Regions from separate parts of the Homo sapiens genome. Here region 2 is linked to region 1. Evidence: promoter capture Hi-C in 16 types of primary human blood cells and fetal thymus (Javierre and others, 2016). All regions are on one chromosome and are shown on one strand. Each heading gives the region's core, a stretch centred on a gene start or on the middle of the fragment in contact. The rest is flanking DNA. Distances are from core to core; before and after follow the strand shown.

Region 1 (2,700 bases), core at 78-2,577:
TTTGTCCCCATGACAAACATGCTGCAGGGCTTTTGCCTGGTTTGTTCAGTACGCTATCTTCACTCCTAGCACCCAGCACATAATAGGTGCTCAGCCAATATTTGTCGAATGGTAATTACCGAAGACCTGCGAATTACTATGTTTAAAATCTCTACCAGGGTTCCTATGACATATTTAGTAACTATTTCCTGGAAAGTCCGTACAATGGAGCATTCAGATACTTCTAAAAAATGCAATGTTTGTGCCTATCACTAATTTTACATTCTTCACTTTTCCCCACTTTGGAGATGAACAGTAAGTGAGAGACATTGTGAGAGACATTTTAATTTCTCTTGCATTTATCATGTCACTCAACAATCATTCAATAAGTATTTATTGATACTTGTGCCAATCACTAGGTGTTGAGAATAAGTGAATAAAATAGTCTGTTTTCATGGAGTTGGCAGTGTGTGTAGATAGGGTGAGATAAAGTCTGAAAGTAAACAAACTGAAAGCTATATAAAATATCAGACAGTAGGCCGGGCGCGGTGGCTTATGCCTGTAATCCCAGCACTTTGGGAGGCCGAGGCGGGCGGATCACGAGGTCAGGAGATCGAGACCATCCCGGCTAACACGGTGAAACCCCGTCTCTACTAAAAATACAAAAAATTTGTCGGGCGTGGTGGCGGGCGCCTGTAGTCCCAGCTACTCGGGAGGCCGAGGCTGGAGAATGGTGTGAACCCGGGAGGCGGAGCTTGCAGTGAGCCGAGGTCGCGCCACTGCACTCCAGCCTGGGTGACAGAGCGAGACTCCATCTCAAAAAGAAAAAGAAAAAAAAATCAGACACTAATAAGAGCCAGAGTCAGAAAGAAGTGTGTGTGTTGATCATTTTTTTTGCTTACAGATACTGGGAAAACTCAAAGAATAAAACATCTGAGCAGGGACCAAGAGCAATCGGGGAGTCCGTATCATGTCACAGAGAAGCGTACAAGCTTAGGAATCTTGTTTTCTGAATTCGAATCGCAGGTTGCCAGTTACACCTGTATGCGACTCAACAAGTACTTTAACCTGTCTCTTAGCTGTTATACTACAAACCTCAGGCTTGTTAAGAGAAAATGCTCCGCAAGGAACTAAACACAGAAGGTTCTAACGCTGAGCCAAGACTGGGAAACGAACTCTGGGAACTCACCCCAGGCTCCCCAAGAACATCGCCCCTCTGGCTGGAGCGCAATTGGTGATTGGCTACTTAACCCGTCCGTCCTTTCCCGCCCAGGGGTCCAATCCAATCCAGCCCGGCTCCGCTCGGAGACAGTTCGCCGAGTGGGCGGTGTCTATGACGTTTTCTGACGTGTTACGTCACAGTGGGCGGAAGTCGCGGCCGCTGTTTTGAAATCGGGCCGCGGGGGGTCTCTCAAGCTGGTTCCAACGCTGAGGCCCCACAGCCTCCCAATTCCGGGCAGACCCCTGACACCTGCTGTCTGGCCCCTTCCGGCCTGAAGCTGCAGCCGCGCCATGTCCACCCCTCCGTTGGCCGCGTCGGGGATGGCGCCCGGGCCCTTCGCCGGGCCCCAGGCTCAGCAGGCCGCCCGGGAAGTCAACACGGCGTCGCTGTGCCGCATCGGGCAGGAGACAGTGCAGGACATCGTGTACCGCACCATGGAGATCTTCCAGCTCCTGAGGAACATGCAGGTAGGAAGGCGGGCGCGCGAGGCCAGGGGGATGCAGCTGGGAGGGAAAGGGCCTCTGGTTTCCTCTTTACGTGGGGCCCGTGGATGTCATCGGGGCTGCCCTGGGCAAACCTTAGGTGTAGGGTCTCCCCCATTCACACTCAAGAGTGTCCCCAAAAGTCGGATTTGTAGAGGTGATGTTTTCCAGACCAGATTTCTGCAGAATTGAAGCCAATTTTTTTTAGATTCAATCGAGCTCTTTAGTTACTCTGTAAACTCTTGCACCTTTCAAGGCAGAGATGGGTCGCACTCCACTTCCCTCTTTAGGTTGCTTTAAATGTTTTTTCCAGCATTTCTTCTGGGGAGGTCCAAGGAGTTGAAGAATTTACATTTTTTTTAAAAAAACAGTCCTCCTTTTTTTGGCATAGTTAATATACAGTAAACTACACTCACCTAAAGTTTTGATATATATGTGTACTGTAGTCTGTATACTTGTGAAATTATCACCACAATCAAAATAGTGTACACATCATCCCAGAAAGTTTCTTCATACCCCTCTGACATCTTTGCTTCCCACCTTCCATCGCTAAGCAACCATTGATCTGCGTTCTGTAATCATAAATTAATTTGCATTTGCTAGGGTTTTATATAAACGGAGTCTACAGTATGTGGGCTTTTTTTTTTGTCTGAGATCCTTCACTAAGAATGCATCAATAATTTCCTTTTTATTGCTGAGTAATGTTCCATTGTATCCATGTATCACCATTTGCCTACCTTTTCTTCTGTTGATGGACATTTGGGTTGTTTCCACTTTTTGGCTGTTGTAAATAATGCTGCTATGAACTTTTGCTGACAAATTTTTGTGTGAACGTATGTGTCATTTCTCTTGGACAGATTCAGGAGTGGAATTGCTGGATCATGCAGTACATGTCTGTTTAATACTTTAAGAAACTTTTCCAAAGTGGCCTGAGCCATTTTACGTCCCGATTATTGCTAGTGGGAATGTAAACATTGCTGTTTGAGGGTTCTAGTTTCTCCTCATCCTCATCAACAC
Region 2 (2,700 bases), core at 12-2,511, 2.1 Mb after region 1:
AAGCGACTTTATCCCCATTTTCCTGGTTGGAAAATTAGATCTCTAGGCCTTGTATGAGTTAGCCAAGGCCTGGATAAAATTTTAGATCATCTCACTGTAACTACAGTATTTTTTTCATTAATGAAAGGTTTTTCAAACTTTTGTACATAGTTTTCAAATTTTAGAAGTTCTTTTCAAAATATAATTTTGGGGAAGATTTGCTGATTTTATTGATTCAAAAATCTAGGCTGAAGTTCATGGAAGACTGAGATTTCTGAGTATGTAAACTAGATAGAGGAGTCTCTACAGTTTTCAGATAGATGAAAAATCACTACACTACAGCCCCATTTAACAAAGAACTGAAAAATCTGTACCCTCCTTAGCTTCCAGTTCAGATAATTTCATTCCATTGACTCAAACTCCCCAATTTCTACCTGAAATTTCACATAAAGCCCCATGACAGGATAATCCTAATGACCGAGTTTTGCTCACAGAGCAAATGGCTGATCTACGTCCCCTTTACAGTTTCCTGCATTCTCCCATGCCAACATTTAAATAGCTTTTCATTGCAGAGCAAAATTTCTAAAATTATCAAATGAACATAAACCTTCTCACTTCTAGTTCCATTTTCTGATTTCCCTATGATTCTCAAAGAAAAGCTTTATCCATAAAGTTGTTAGTGACAGTCTACATTTCATATGAACCTATGAATTTCATTCACATACTTTTCAACTTTCCTTTCAAGCCACTAAAAACAATGATGAATTAAACTGAGCTTTTAAGTCTCTGTTAGCCAGCTATTCACAAGCTCACAAATTTCCTTTTGTCTTTTAAGAATTAAATTACTTACATATCAAAGAGGATATTCTATTTCCACCTGGAGACAGTTTCTAAATCACAAGTTTCAATAAAATAGACTCCTGCATAACACCACAAACATACACACTGCAAGTGCACATGAGTGCACAGACACCTGTAGACATATAAAGTCTCTTGCAGTCTTAAAGGCAAATCAAGTGGGCCACATCAGACATATGAGAAAAAGATGTCAAACTAAATCACAGTTATGGCTTATATTTTCTTAGAAAATTTATTCCACCCATCTCACCGTCTCATTAACCTGAATGCCCATTGTATTTACCCAACAGAATTATAAGTAGCTTTTCTCATTTCATATCTCCTAATAAATCTATAAATCTTTTATGACCTGGTATAAAAAATCCTGTTCAGCCATTATTTCCTACGCTAACAATAAATCCAGGTAACAAGTGTGTTAGTTAATTAATTATGACAGTCTGTTTGCACTGCCACAACCTTGAAACTAACACCCCAGTCCATAGTACAGCAGCGAGGGCATCCATGTGTACAGAACATTCTCAGCTATTGTTGAGGACTCTGAGAAGCTATGGTTACTAAACAACTGCATGCTTTTGAATGGTGGATCTCACTCTGATCAATCCGAAGCTAGCCATATATCAATACCCTTTGTGTTCCTTCTATTTGTTGCACCCTTGGAGCACTGAGCTTCCCAGGATTTCTTTGGCGCCTAAAAATGTTGTTGGAAATAGGCATGGCTGCCTCCTCCCCACCTAGTGTCTTATTCTTACAGGCTTATAAAATTCACCCAGTATTTTCTGATGGGAAGGCTTTTCTAATGGTCAGAATAACCAGTCACATGTGTCAATCGAGAGAGATCCTTTCTAAGCATATGCAGCATTTAAACGCATAAAGATATTTCCACTGTCTACAGGATGCTTTTACCTAGTTTACTAAGTACATCCTTGATTTTTATTCAGGAGAAATCAACCACAGTTCCTAAAAAGCACATAAGCTACATCAAAAGAAAAATTATTCAGGCATATCCAAACCATAAAATTCAGAGTTAGGTTGCATTGTATTCTAAGACTAAGCTTCACGTGGTTAGAAGTTTAATAAATTATTTTAGATGATATCATAAAGGCCTAAAATAACCAACGACTTAATTAAATAATTCAAGGAGCAAATTCGTGTAGCCCACTTAAGACCATTTAGGTTTATAAATTATAATATAGACCATACTACTTTTCTAGAAGTGGCATTTATTCATTAGTTCATATAGCTATTCTTATAACATGGAAATAATTTACTATACACAAAATATTTTCAAAGACTAATAAATCCAATCTATACTTTTCAAGTTTTCCAGTAGTGAGCACAGAAATTCAAGAGGCAATGAAACAGAATAATTCCTGGGATTTTTTTTTTTTAATCCAGAAAGAAAAGTAGAAATCATCTAAGTCTGCTCCTCATTGTACAGCTAAGGAAACAGACTTCACAAGTGACTTGCCCAACACCACACAGCAAGTTACAGGACTCCAGGGTACCAGCCTAGGATTTTAATGACTGTTTTCCAAAAGAAGTCACCTTTAAAAATAATGAGTGACTCAATTTTACATTCATTAAGGAAACAGCATTTAATTCTTTCAATCTCAGTTTTAGCCAGAGTAATATATTAAGAGGAAACAGAAAAAAAAAGTTCCCTTTAGTGTTCATTGAAAAGAACCAGCAGTTGGCTCTCAAGTTGCTAGCTTTCCCACATGACCATGCTAAGGATCTGATTCCCCTGTCTGTTCAGTCACAGTCAGTGTTAATGGGAGTGAAAAAGAGGCCTTTGAAGAGAGCATTTGCTGCAAATAAAAACAGCATTCTCTAGCTCAGTGATCCACTGTCCTCTGCCTCCCC

What was found. The method cuts DNA at HindIII sites, captures the fragments that hold promoters and counts their contacts. A CHiCAGO score of 5 or more calls a contact.
Region 2: a contact is called between a fragment that was not itself captured here and the fragment with the promoter of MED30 in region 1, in 1 of 17 cell types (naive CD4 T cells). The highest score is 5.1, in naive CD4 T cells.

What each region holds. Positions count from the first base shown.
Region 1 is chr8:117,519,386-117,522,085 of GRCh38, forward strand. It overlaps MED30 (mediator complex subunit 30), which reads left to right and starts at 1,328. Exons shown (of 4, transcript NM_080651.4): 1 at 1,328-1,668. The coding sequence starts at 1,492. LOC105375716 (a long non-coding RNA gene) reads right to left here and starts at 1,335. Exons shown (of 7, transcript XR_928569.3): 1 at 1,169-1,335. The HindIII fragment of the contact is 1,953 bases long and covers 970-2,700 here.
Region 2 is chr8:119,634,570-119,637,269 of GRCh38, forward strand. The region is part of intron 2 of ENPP2 (ectonucleotide pyrophosphatase/phosphodiesterase 2); the gene reads right to left. Among named protein-coding and RNA genes, the nearest start is that of ENPP2, 2.9 kb to the right of the region's middle. The HindIII fragment of the contact is 1,251 bases long and covers 637-1,887 here.